Regions from separate parts of the Homo sapiens genome. Here region 2 is linked to region 1. Evidence: promoter capture Hi-C in 16 types of primary human blood cells and fetal thymus (Javierre and others, 2016). All regions are on one chromosome and are shown on one strand. Each heading gives the region's core, a stretch centred on a gene start or on the middle of the fragment in contact. The rest is flanking DNA. Distances are from core to core; before and after follow the strand shown. Region 1 holds the start of GP9 (glycoprotein IX platelet). Region 2 overlaps RPN1 (ribophorin I).

Region 1 (6,990 bases), core at 1-2,500:
GCAGATAGGTGAGGCTGCAGTCACAGTGCCAGGGGTTCTGCGTCACATCGAGGGTCTGCAGCTGGGGCAGGTGGTCAAAGGCTCCCGGGGGCACGGACTGAAGGCTGTTGTTGGCCAGCAGAAGGTGGCGGGTGCGGGCCGGCAGGGCAGGCAGGGCCGTGAGTCCGTGGCCCCTGCAGTCCACCCACAGCCCCATGGTTTCCAGGGCGCGGCAGGTACATGGGCTGGGGCAGTCCTTGGTGGCCTCTGCTGTGGCCCAGAGCAGGAACAGGGCTCCCCAGGCAGGCATGGGACAGGCTGGCTGCAGAGAGAGGGGCTGTGAGGGAGGGCCTGGCAGCCTGGACCGATCCTCAGGGACGGCAAGCACTGGGGATGTAGCGGAGCCTGACATGGGACGGGGTGCACTCACCTCCCTTCTCGGGTCTCAGCCTTCTCCTCTGGGAAACCAGCTGGTGACTAGGGAAGGTGGAGTGTGCCCAGCCCAGGCCTGGCTAACTGTCTCTGGACACCGTAGAAGGCCGGGCGGTGAGGGCGGCTGTGGATTGGGTAAGTTTGTTTTTGGGAAGGGGAAGGGACTTCCTGGCCCTTAGCAGAGACCCCATCCCCTGCTTGGGGATGAGAGGAGCAGATGGCTGCTAAATGAGTCCCAGCCCAGGACCACAGTCCCCAGAGACTAGGAAAGAGCCTTGGAGGGCCCTGCAGGCTGCGCCCAGCACCCCCCACCAGCTAAGTGAGCTGTTACCTGATTCCCAGATGCAGAAGACAGCAGGACAGGGACACTGGCTGGAGCAGGGAGGGGAACTCAGTGGGACCCCATCTGGAAAACCACTCATCTGGGCTAACACTGACTTGGGGAAACTGAGGCCCAGAGAGGGAAAGCAATGTGCCCAGGGCCACCGGTGTGGTGTCAGAGGCCAGACTCACACTCGGGTCTCGGCAACCGTGGCCCTCTGTTTGGTTCTTCCCCACAGGCGTTTCCCCTCCACCAGCAGAGCTCCCCCTACCCACAGCAGGTTTCCAGTGAATAAGTGTCAAATCAACTCACTCATCTTGACTCAGCCAAGGAGATGGTGTCTCAGAGGGAATGTCCCACCCAACCCTGTCTTGTTAAAGGGACAGGAACTGACCTCCTCTCTCCCTGTGGGAGGCCATGCTGGGTAATACGGAGGGCCACTTACCTGTGAAGCCTTTGGTCAGGTGCTCCTGTCTGGCCTGAAAGGTCCTGGCTGAGGCCTGGGTGGCAACTCTATGGGATACAGCTGAGGTGGCCGCTGCGGGAGCGGGCGGAAGGAAGTGATGAAAATAGCCTGGCTTATCCCCCCAGTGCAGCCTTGGGGCCTATTTCCAGAGGCAGGAGGCCCTCAGGGGCCCGCGCCTTGGGCACAGAACCACATCTCAACCCCGGTTTATAGAAGGGGGTCCCACTGTGCCGCCAGTGCCTTGATGGGCTTTGGAATCAGGTCTGTGGAGGACTGAGGGTGGCCCCTCACCTGCTCCCAGAAGGTGGGAACTAGGAGACCCCTGAGAAACGTGGCTCTGCTGGTTGTTCCTCCGAATCTCAGTTTTCCTCATCTGTAAAGTGGGAGCAGTGACCGGTCCTGCCTGCCTCACAGAGGTGTGGGCTGGGCAGCTCCCACTGGCTGAGAACACCATGGTGGGGAGAGTGACTTCATTTTTAACTCTCCTCCCTCCTCCTGTATACTCAAGGACGGAGTCTCTTCTTGGTGCCATGGTGTTTTTAGCTCCTGCCTAGTGCTTCTCCATGCCTCTTTCTAACAAACAGCTGTAGGCCTGGGAAGCAGAGCCTCTACCAAGTGTGAATCTCTAGCTAGAATTTTGGCCTATGGTTTTAACATTTGCAGTACATTTTCTTCTAGAGCACATTCTACTTAGGGGAGGGACACCATTTTCCATTTATGTTAGTGACATAAAGCTTCCTTTAAAAGATAAATATATTTTGGGATGGAGAATTGCTTGAACCCAGGAGGCAGAGGTGGCAGTGAGCCGAGACCGTGCCATTGCACTCCAGCCTGGGTGACAGAGCGAGACTCCGTCTTAAAAAATAAATAAAACAGGGTAAAAACACAGAAGTTACAGAAGCCTGGCAGGAAAAGCCAAAGACAGAAGGCTGACGGAGGCTTTAAACGCACTTCGTTGACATTCAGGACCCTCGGGAATATTCCTCGGCCCTACGGGGGTGGGGGTGTGCTTGTTCTTATTTTGGTCTCACATCCTTCTCAGGCCAGCCTTCCTCCTCCTGCATGGCCAAGCAGGGTGAGTCCTTCCTTGGGAGGCCGCCTGTTCTCTCCCCGCCTCCTGGTTCTGGATTTGGGTAGGGCAGGATTTGGGTGTTCACCCTCCTAGGAGGCCCTGAGAGGCTGCCAGGCCCCAGCTCTGCTTCCTCCACCCACTGATGCTGGGCTCAGAGAAGGGTGGGGAAGGTGCTGTTCCCCCACTGATGTCACACCTGCTCGGGGGCCTGGTTGCTGCTGGGGGTCCCCTGGTATGTGCTCAGTGGGGACTCTGACCGGAGCCTGGACCATGGAGAGGAGCCTCAGCCTGTCTGGCCCTTCCCTCCCTCCCCATGGAGCCTTGGCATGTTCCACCTCCTCTGCCCTGCACACATTCACCAGTGAGCCCCACGCAGGTGGGTAAGGGGTTCTGGAGTGAGTGGGGGTGCTGGAGCTGCCAGGCCAGGTGTTGTGACCAGATCTGGTGGGGCCTGTGCCCTCCTTCCTCTTGAGCCTCTGAGATTTCCTTATTTTCAGCATGTACAACTTAAAACAAAAAACTAGATCAACATAGATGGGTTTTGTGAATTTAAAAAACTACATAAATAACAAATAAATGATTTTTGTTGTGGGAAATTAGAATGTTCAGATGAACTGGAAGAAGAAAATAAAAATTTCCCTCCATCCCAACATCAGGCAAGGCTTTTTCCCCATGTGTATTTACCCATATGGGTAAATACATACCCATCTGCCCAAGAGGCACAGGATAATGCAGGAAGTGGATCTGTAAACAGCCTGGGTGAGCCTGCAAGTGGATTCTCCCAGAGCCTCCAGAGAGGAATGCAGCCCTGCCAGCAGCTTGATTTCCACCTACAAGTGATGCAGGGCAGGTGAGCCCCCAAATCAGGGCTTTGCCCCTGAGGGCTCTTGGCTTTGGCCAGGAAAGAAGTCAAAGAGCCAGTGGTGAAGAAAGCCGCTTTATTGAAGCAGCAGTGCATAGCAGAGGTGCTGCTCTCTGGGAGCAGGGCTACCCCACAGGCAGTGTGCCCAGAGCAGTAGTGTGTGGGCTTTTGGCAACTGCACTTACAGCCACTATTCATTACATGCAAATTCAGGGGCAGGTTATTTCAAACTTTCTAGAAAAGGGGTGGTGAGTTTCCAGAACCCTGTAACTTTCAGGTTGTTGCCATGGCGTGCTGCCATGGCATTTGTAAACTACCATGGTGCCAGGGGGAGTGTCTATGTTAGTGAGCAGTGAGGGCAACTAGCGGTTGCTTTCGTTCCCATCTGCTGGTTTCTGGTGTCTGCCAGCTTCTTCACTACACCTTGTTTCAACCAGATCCTGCTGCCATCAGCAGGCTGGGGACCGGGGGTCCTGACAGGTGCTCAGAAAACAGGTCCTGCTGATCTACCTCAGGAGGGCTGGAATAAGAGAACCCACAGGAGCTGTGTGATGAAGAATGAGAAAATAAATGTGTGCTGCATTAAGCCTCTTGTGACAGCAGCAATAGGAACCAAGGCGAAGGCCAAGCCCCACTCTTGTGCTGTGAGTTGTCCCCTCTCCATCCTTCCAGGACATTGCCCCATCAGGTGCCCCTTCCTCTGCATGATCAATTTCTCCTTCACTGGGTCATTCCATCAGGTTAGGAGCAGCCAGACCAGGCGCGGTGGCTCACGCCTGCAATCCCAGCACTTTGGGAGGCTGAGGCAGGCAGATCACTTTAGGTCTGCCTAAAGTGGGTTTCGAGACCAGCCTGACCAACATGGAGAAACACCATCTCTACTAAAAATACAAAATTAGCTGGGCGTGGTGGTGTATGCCTGTAATCCCAGCTACTTGGGAGGCTGAGGCAAGAGAATCACTTGAACCCAGGAAGCGGAGGCTGTGGTGAGCTGAGATCGCGCCATTGCACTCCAGGCTGAGCAACAAGAGCAAAACTCCGTCTCAAAAAAAAAAAAAAAAAAAAGAAGCAACCTATAATCCTGCCCTTTTGAAAAATCCTTCCTTAATTCCACCTCTTTCTCCAATTACCATCTGATTTTTCTGCTTCTCTCTTCCATAAAACTCCTCTGAAGAGTCACTTCTACTTGCTGTCCAACCCATCAGTAATTCCTGTCATTTCAGTCACCAGGATCTATTCAGAACTTAACCACTTCTCCCTGTGCTGCTACTGCTCTGGTCTTCGTTCGCCTTCTTGGCTTCCCATCGCAAATAAAAGAAAACCCGTGCCCCTGTGGTCAGGAAGCTACAGGCCCCCCTGTAGCTTGGCCCCTGCCTATTTCTTGACCCCATCACCCACTGTCTACTTTGCTCATCAATGTCCAGCCACACCAATTTTCTTCCTGTTGCTCAAACACTCCAGCACTTTCCTGCCTCAGGGCCTTTGCACTTGCTGTTCCCTCTGCCTGGAGTGCCCTTCCCCCAGAGCCCCACATGGCTTCCTCCTGATCATCATTCTCATCTCAATTCAGATGACCCCTCCTCAAAGGCCTCCCTTGCCAAGGCACAGCTCCATCCTTCTGTACCATAATATTCCATTTCATATCTTCCTTAGCATTGATCAGGATCTGAAATGATCTTATTTTTACATTTTTATGTGTTTATTAAATGTCTCCTCCCATTGATGTGAAACTCAAGAGGGCAGAGACTCTGTCCCATTAACTCTTCCCTCCCCAGCACCTCTGCCTGGCCCATGGGCATTATCTAATACATACTTGTCAGCCTTGCTGGCTGTCTCTTCTCTAGTGCTGGCCTTATCTGTGTCTTGCCAGGACTGCTGTCTCCTTGATGCTGGCCTCTGCCTCTACTATACAGGTTTAATCTCACTACACTCCTGCTCCATGTCTTTCATGGCTCCCTGCTGTCTTCAGGACACCCTCTGCCACCCTGTCCAGCCTCACCTCTCATCTCTTCCTGATCTGAAGCTTCGTGGTAGGCTAGCCATGTCCCTCACTCCCCACCCACATGCCAACTTCTGTCTGTGCTTTTGCCTCTGCACTGCCCTCTTTCTGGAGCCCTGTGGAATTTTGCCTGGCATGCTGCATCCTTTAAGATTCACCGGGGGCATAACTTCTTACGGGAAGCCCTCCTCGACGCACTCACCCAGCCGTTTGCTTATCTGTTTGCAAATGGGCCCAGCAGCTCCTTGGAGAACCTCAGCACCCACTAGGGAAGTGTTCGCAGATCTTGTGACTAAAAGTTGGTTGAGCCTCTCAGGCAATTTCAGGTGATACATGCCTATGACACAAATAACGAGAAACATGAGGGAGACAGCCACTCCTTTCTTGTCCCCTGAGCTGAAGGAAACAGCCTCTGTTTGGTAATCGTATTATGAGGCAAACTGCTTAGGTAAACTTACTTTGGAGGCTGGGATCTTTCAATATCCCCCAAGACAATTTTTCCTTCTCATGGGAAGCAGAGGGGATTAAGAGGCAGTGATTATTAGGTAGCATTTTTAGCCTGTGTGCAACCAACAGGAAATGGGTAACCCTGTCTGCCACTGTTGGACCCCCTTGGAACAGAGCCTCTGCTTGCTGGATCTTTGCAGATGCAGGTCTCCGTCACCCCGGCTGTTCTGAGCCAGCCTGTGGAGCAGCCTGCCTTGCTCTGAAACCTGGTTTTGCTACTTACTTGCTCTGTGACCTTGGGCAATAGTCTTAGCCTATCTCTGCCTCAGTTTCCTCATCTGCAGAATGGGGAAAATCAAAGACCCCACCTCCCAGACTGCTGTGAGGAAAGAGTGAGATAAGCCTGACAGGTGCTTTGCTGGGGGTCTGGCCACAGCAGGCACTGTGGAAGTCATCATGGGCAGGGGCCACTGGCACACTGTCAGGGAAGAAAGGGGGGCCTGACAGCCAGGCGTGATGGCTCACGCCTGTAATCCCAGCACTTTGGGAGGCCGAGGTGGGCGGATCACTTGAGGCCAGGAGTTCAAGACCAGCCTGGCCAACATGATGAAACTGTCTCTCTACTAAAAATACAAAATTTAGCTGGGCGTGGTGTCACGCGCCTGTAATCCCAGCTACTCGGGAGACTGAGGCAGGAGAATCGCTTGAACCTGGGAGGCGCAGGTTGCAGTGAGCCGAGATTGTACCATTGCACTCCAGCCTGGGCAACAGAGCAAGACTCTGTCTTAAAAAAAAAAAAAAGAAAGAAAGAAAGAAAAGAAAGGGGGCCCTCACACCCTTTGACGTACCTTCTCGTGTCTGAGGATTTTTGTCTCTTGTGATTAAAAGGATTAAACACAGTCTAGCTTGGCACAAAGATACCCCTCCCCAGCTGAAAGCCCTAACCATGGGACTTCGACCTGCCTCTCAGCCTTGCTGTCTGGCCCTTCAGCTCAGTGGCTGTATCTGGTCAGAAATGAATGATGATGCTTTATTTGCTATGAACTTATTGTGATGTTAGTTTGTGTGTATGACAGGTGAGACTGGTTTCTCAATTAAATTCGAGCATACAAACTTTCTTTCTTAAAATACATTTATATACATTTAAAAAGAGAACTGATTCTAAGAAAAATATTAAGTGTAAACTAAAAATAAAATTATAAGCCCCTGCCAAACTGAATGGACCCCTTTATGGCCAAGGGGACCCCAGAAAAACTTTAAAACTGAGCTTCCAGCCACGACAGGACAGGAGGTCAGAAGCCTCGTTATACCTCCTCCTTTTTGTGCTTCAGACACAACAACTGACCAGCATTACTGTTAAAATAGAGATAGACAAAATAGAGATAGTAAGACTGACATGACCGACTCTTTG
Region 2 (6,990 bases), core at 2,160-4,659, 440 kb after region 1:
GTTTTGAACAAAGGAATTTTCAATATTTGATTGGTATTCTGTTCTGAAGTCTAAGATATTTTTCAGCCTATAAAGCCCCCTGTTTTATGCCCTTCTAATTCTGATGTTTGGGTATTGTGTGAGTGCATGTGTTTTTTTTTTTTTTTTTAAAGCGTGTGTGAACAAATGGAAATAAAGCAGGGACTGTGAACATTTGTTTTTGGTCTGTTGAAGATCTCTCATAATTTAATTCTTAATTTTGGGAATAGTGCTTTTATCAAGTGCTTTTTATTCATTAAATAATGGATTTGCTTCTCAGCAGGTTTGCAAGGCAAGCATTTACATTTTACATATTAGAACACTGAGTTATTCTAGTACCAGAGTGTTGAAAGTGGTGCCAGAGTGTTGAAAGAGTTGACGTGGCTTATGTCACAGAATGGAGTAGTGGAGTGAGGCCTCCATTTTTGTAGTTTTTGCATCCTTCCTGTGAGTCATGTTTTACTCAGCATCAAGGAAACAGTGATGAGCAAAGCAGAGATGGTTCCTCTCAAGAGGCAAGGGATTGAAAGGTCATGTGGGGAATCGACAGTGCCAGTGAGTGCCAGGCTTTCTGCCCCTCTTTCCTCTCTGCAGGAGTTCGCTCCCTGTCTCCACCTAATGAATTCCTGCTCAGCCTCAGGATGTGTTACTTAAGGTTACTGTGTCAGGGAGCCATCCGTGGCCTGCCACACTCAGTCAAGTCCTGTGGTACCCTCTCGTTTTCCTTTGTACCTCTTCTCCACCTCATATACCACGGTTGGAATGTGTGTGATTACTGAACTAGCTTCAATAGGGCAGGGGTTTTGTCTTTTATGCTCATCTTTATGTTAACAGCTAGGTGTTCAGACCAATCTATGACACGTAGTTGGGTTATTGAATGTTTGCATGAGTGGCTTACAAACAGCTTAAATATTGGCAGGTGGGTTGAGGGATTACTGGGGAAGTCTGTAGAAGACCAGTTGTGAGGAACTGATGCTGAATTCTGTTTCAGACATGGCAAAATGGAGGTGCTCGGGACATCCAAGTGGGAGTGTCCCTGGGCAGGTGGATATTCAGGCCTGGAATTATAAGGTCTGGTGTGCAAGTGGTAAATGTGGGGCTGCCGGGCCTAGACATGGTTATGGAAAAGGTGAGAAGGAGGCTGTGGGAGGGGACAGTGCCTAGGAAGGGTATAGAATAAGAAGAGATCCAGAACTGAATATTAAGACGACAAAGTAATAGTGGCCACCTGGGTTGACAAAGACCAGGACTCTCCTTACCTGGGACGAGAAAGACCAGGACTGTGGTGTCATGAAGCCAAGTGGAAAAATGTTTCCAGGAGTGAACCATCTGAGGCTGAAGAGACCGAGCAGTGCCTTTTGGCTGTAGGAGTGGATCACTGAAGCCTTTTACCCATTGGTGACTTGAGAACTGTGTTGGTGTGGGGATGGGAATTGGACGGAAGTGAGACTTAACTTTGAGTCCTGACAAAGCATTTCGCAAACAGGCTGGGAAAGGGATGAGTGAGGGCCTTCAGGAGGCTGTGCTGCTTGAATGTTCTACTCTAAGGTTGGGGACACCAAGTGTGTTGAATGCCATTGGGAAAGATCCAGTTGAAAATGAGAAGTTGAACATAGGGATTAGGAGATTGTGCAGGGGGAAAATGGGGGATCCAAGGACAGTGGAAGGATGGGAGGAGCAAGAAGGAAGACCCTCCAGAGTCGTGCTCTGCAGTCGGATCCCTGGATGGAAATCCCAGGCCTGCCGCTCTCTGTGACCTCAGGCAAGTCTTTCCGTGCAAAATGGAGTAGGGCTGTTACCTGCTTCCTAGGATGGCTGTGTGGGTCACATGCTGTCATAATGCAAGGTGGCGTATAGCAAATGCTTGTTAAACAGCGACGGTCTCGCCGAGCTCTGGCCTGAGCCGGGGGCAGAGGGTTGGTCCTGTCCTGGGGGTTGGAAGCCGTGGAGGCCACGTTTAATCAGTGTTCACAGTGGTGTGCCCGTGGACCTGGCCTCACGCACGCCCGGCCTTGGGAGCCCCTGCGGGAGGGTGCATACCCTGACCTGCCCGAGAGGCGTCTGCCGCAGCCCCTGCTTCCCCTAGGGAACCCCCGGGCGGCTGTGCCTCACGGAGGGGCCCTGCTTTACCGCGGCTGCATACCACCTCGGGCCATTTGGTCAGCTGCTTCACCAGCTCTCTTCATCCTCTTACTCTCCCTGAATCTTTTTCTTCGTTTTTTGGAGCAGTCAGAAAGCTTGGCCGAAATCAAGATAACTCGCTGGGCCCGCGTGCAGATTGGTGGGCGCCCTCTGCTGGGCCGGCGGGCCTCTCGCAGGCCTGAGGAGCGAGCTGCGCCTGCGCCCTGGTGTCCCTTCGTAACACTGCGGCACGTCACGAGGCGGGCACCGGGGAGTATGGGCGAAATCGCAGGCGCAGACGGCGGGCTCGGGCTAGAAAAGTCGCGCATGCGTGGGGCTAATTTAAAGGCGGCGCGGCTCCAACAGAACCAAAGCCAATTCTCCGGCTGTGGCGCCACCTACGGGTGTGGGCTCGTAAACGGCCTCCTCTGGCCGGACTAGGACTGGGTCTGGGGTCGGCGGGCTCAGGACCACTGGGCTGCTGAGGGGCTTAGCCATGGGGACCTGGGCTCTCAGCTGCCCTGGAAAGCCACAGGGCTAGCTGGGCTGGCCAAGGCCGGTGGCTCCCCCAGCATCCTGTGGTGGGTGCATCCCTGGGCCCAGTGGGGCATCCGGTGCTGCCCTCCCCACCTACGGGCTTACATCCTTTGGTTGCTGGGACAGAGCGCCCTACGCCACGCGCAGCCCTGCGCTTCCCTGATCCTCGGTTTCCCCAGTAGTAAACAGGGCCTCAGTTTCCCCCTTGTAAATCTCAGGGAGGAGGTGAAGTGGGGCCCTAGGTGTAAAGCCAGGTTCAGGCTGGGCATCCCTTGGCGCAAGGTGACATGCCCCAGACACCTGACACCTCTCAGTCTCAGACCCAGCGTACTTTCTCTGTGGCCCTCATGTGGCCGTATAGGAGTGGCCCACCCACTCCCACTCCCATTCAGATCCCCAGGCCACAGTGCCTTTTGTCCAGCCTTGGCCAAGATGCCTGACCCTAGTGGCCTGGCCCTGGCTGCTTCCATGGCTGCAGCTTTGGGATGTCCCTGTAGTCATAGGTGGCCTCATGGCAGTCCCCCAGCCTTGAACCTGGACCCTGGCTCAGGGAGGGGAAAACACGGCTGAAGAAGGGCTGGGTGTCACTTTCTCTCTTCCATTTGTCTTGGAGGCTGTCATGGGAGAAAACCCCAAAGGACCCAGTGCGCCCTCACAGTTTCACCACAAGTATCCTGACCGGGCGTCTGGTGCCGAGCTGATAGTGCAGGCCCCGGCCGCAGCCCCGCCGGAAGCCCATGCTGCCAGCGGTTGGGGGCCGCAGGCTCAGACAGGAAATGCCCCCGAGTGTACCCCAGGGCCCTCTGCAAAGGCCTGATGCTTTGGATGAGGCCTGGCGCCATTTTGAAGCTGGGCCTGACTCTGGGACTCTGGCCTGGTTCTGGGGCTGGTGGCCTGGGATCTGGGGACTGCTTTGTCACCTGCCTGGGCAGGTGTGGGAGATGACAGGGAGGGAAGAGAGAACCTTCAAACTGGGCTAGACCTGAAGCGAAAGCTGAATGATGCAGCCTGTCCCCTACCATGGCCAACCCCTTCATGGTGCCCCCAGCCCAGCCCTTTAGGGTCTCAGCTTCCATCAGGCCCTTAGTTCCATATGTGGTGTGACAGGCCCAGGACTAAATGCAGGGGACACAGAAGGGAGCAGACAGCAGAAGTGCTGGGCATCAGGAAAGGCAAGTCAGAAGGTAGGGCCATCAGGAGGGTCCATCGCAGCATCTGAAGGATTTGCTTGTGGGGGTTGGTGGGGAGGGAGGAGCCCAGACTCCTTTTTTGACTTCCACTCAGGGGATAGAATCCAGAAAGATTTAAGACGAGTGTCTCAGTCTGTTAAGGCTGCTATAACAAAATACCATAGACTGGGTAGCTATAAATAGAAATTTGCTTCTTACAGTTCTGGAGGCTGGGAAGTCCAAGATCAAGGCACCGGCAGATTTGGTGTTGAGAGGTCCTGCTGCTTGGTTCAAAGATAGCACCTTCTCGTGTCCTCACATGGTGGCAGAGATGAGGGAACTCTCGGATGTATCTTATAAGGGCACTAATGTCCATTCATGAAGGCTCTACCCTCATGGCCTAATCACCTCACAAAGGTGCCACCCTCTAATGCTTCACATTGGGGGTTAGGTTTCAACATAAGAATTCTGGGGGGATGCAGACATTCAGTCTGTAGCAGTGGGAAGGACAGGAGCCTGTTCAAATGCTGATGGGAAGGAAGGAGGTAACAGGGACATAAAGGCTGAAGATCCAGGAGAGAAGGGGCCAGTGAATAGATCCCAGTAGAGCAGGATTGGGTGGGATTGAGGGCTTAAGGCAGTGATCTCATGGGAGAGCCCTGAGAGACTGTGCCTTCATTAGCACTGAGGAGATCAGCAAAGACCTGTTCAAGCTTCGCCTCCTGGGCAGCCTTCCCTATTCTCCAGGTGGGCTGAGATGTCCCTACCTTACACTACTGGACACTGCTTTCTGAAGTGGAATGGACTGTTTGCCTCCCTACACTGGGTGCTCTATTTCAGCAGAGTTTAAACAGAGGCAGCACATCCATTCATTCAACAAATATCTTCAACTGAGTGCAGTGGACTTTATAAATGTCCTCCCAACACTTTGGGAGGCTGAGTTGGGAGGATCATTTGAACCCAGGAGGTTGAGGCTGCAGTGAGCTATGATCACACCACTGCACTCCAGCCTGGGTGACAGAGAGAAACCCTGTCTTGAAAACAAAAACAATTTTTGTATTTTTTGTAGAGACGGGGTTTTGCTGTGTTGCTCAGGCTGGTCTCAAACTCCTGGGCTCAAGTGATCCACCTGCCTTGGCCTCCTGAAGTGCTGAGATTATAGGCATGAAGCACCATGCCTGGCCTATTTGCCATTTTTAAATAATGGATGAGGTTGGTCATTTTTCCTTGTGAATTTGCCTTCTTATGTGTGGTTTATGCATTGTTGAGGTTTTTGCCTTTTTCAAAGGTGAGTAGGAAAGCTAGTAACAGAAAAATGGGTGCTCATTGTTATTTCTTTTTTTTTCTTTCTTTTTTTCTTTTTGAGACAGAGTCTTGCTCAGCCACCCAGGCTGATCTTGCCCGGGTGCAGTGGCGTGATCTGGGCTCACTGCAACCACCGTCTCCCAGGTTCAAGGGATTCTCCCACCTCAGCCTCCCAAGTAGCTGGGATTACAGGCACCCACCATCATGCCTGACTAATTTTTGTATTTTTAGTAGAGACGGGGTTTCACCATGTTGGCCAGCCTGGTCTTGAACTCCTGACCTCAGGTGATCCACCCACCTCGGCCTCCCAAAGTGCTGGGATTACAGGCATGAGCCACTGCATCCGGCCTCATTATGATTTCTAAAAGTCAGCAACTCCGAGGGTAGACAGGAGTGTTCAGGAAAGGGCGCTGCCCTGGGAGGGACAGGGACTGGAAGACCAGAGGGAGGGCTGCATGCGTATTGTTACAAATAAATGCAATCTGAATGGCTAAAAACAAACAAACAAACTATACAAACACACACCAAAGAAAAATCCACTTTGTAGTGGGCACTGTTTTGGGCACCAGCAATATGATAGTGATAAATGCTATGAAGGAAATAAAATGGGTGATATGATAAATGGATGTAGTCTGGAGGGTCAGGAGGGCATCCCTTAGAGGAGACTCCTGAGCTGAGACCCAGGACAGCTGAGAGCTGGGCAGGGTGGTGTAGCAGGGTGTGGGCTGGGTGGCCATAAATCCTTCAGCCTCTTTTCTCTTGGCCTCTTCCTCACCCCATCCAGGCCTCTGGTGGCTGCAGGACCTCCTGCCTGCAAGTCAGGTCTCATGCATACCTGCCCTCTAGAGCGCTCCAGCTTCTCAGCTTCCAGCTTCCTCTCCCCTAGGCTTGGGTCCTGGTGCCTGCAATGGCCCCAGCACTCATGCCCCCTAGACTTTGCGTCAAGGAGCTGTCATACTCATGCCAAGCTCCTGATGGGTGTCTGACCCACTCAAGCCTCCGGGCTTTCTGTTTCTCTTCTCTGAGCCTCACATTGCTCACCTGGAGAATGAGGACCATAACGATATCAGGACTGGAAGGAGCTCAGAGGTATGCTGCCTGGGAAAGCCCCTGGCGCAGCACCGGCTCAAGGAGCAGGAGTCTCTTCCTTTGACAGATACCAGGGTGACAAGTATAATGCTTTGATTTGAACTAAGAGTAGCTGTTTACAAAGTGCTTTCTTTATAAATGTCCATTTATTCATTGGTTCAGACTGCAGATCGAGGTCTCAGCAGTCTGAACCACCTATTGGGTTGGAGCCCTAGGTGTGGAGGGAGAAGCCAGCCCTCGCTGAGACAGACAGACCTGGGACAGGTCCCTCTCTGCAGCCGGCACCTGTGTGAACTTGGGCAAGTCCCTGACCTCTCTGGGCCTCAAGTCTTACTGCACAATGACAGATGTCCAAGGGCCTTCTAGCATTGATGAGCTGGGATTCTGGGGCCAGTTAGTGCAGGCAGAGTCCCAGAAGCAGCCTCAGTGGAGGGAGGGAGGAAGCACAGATTTTTGTTTTTATTTTATTTTTCCAAATTCCTGTTCCTCCACAGTGCTGGGATGAGGCAGGTATGAGGTCCCTACGGCGGGTCTCATGGTTGCCTTGTCAGTGAACGCTGGGGGTGCTGTGATGCAATGTGGATCCTTCCTGACCCCTGTGACCTGTGCTAGCAGGGTGGGGCCTTCTGTCTGTCTCCGTCTCATGTTTACCCTCCTGGGGGGTGCGCAGAAGGCACATGGGCACACACATGCAGCTCTTCCAATGCTCAGATGTGCGCATGCCACTCTCACACCTGTGACTGTCACCGAG

What was found. The method cuts DNA at HindIII sites, captures the fragments that hold promoters and counts their contacts. A CHiCAGO score of 5 or more calls a contact.
Region 2: a contact is called between a fragment that was not itself captured here and the fragment with the promoter of GP9 in region 1, in 1 of 17 cell types (megakaryocytes). The highest score is 6.7, in megakaryocytes.

What each region holds. Positions count from the first base shown.
Region 1 is chr3:129,055,039-129,062,028 of GRCh38, reverse strand. It overlaps GP9 (glycoprotein IX platelet), which reads right to left and starts at 1,250. Exons shown (of 3, transcript NM_000174.5): 1 at 1,179-1,250; 2 at 410-535; 3 at 1-301. The coding sequence starts at 289. The HindIII fragment of the contact is 4,040 bases long and covers 1-1,935 here.
Region 2 is chr3:128,613,174-128,620,163 of GRCh38, reverse strand. RPN1 (ribophorin I) reads left to right here. Exons shown (of 10, transcript NM_002950.4): 10 at 1-195. Among named protein-coding and RNA genes, the nearest start is that of RPN1, 34 kb to the left of the region's middle. RefSeq lists enhancers at 1,985-2,034, 1,750-2,261, 2,055-2,344. The HindIII fragment of the contact is 2,303 bases long and covers 2,258-4,560 here.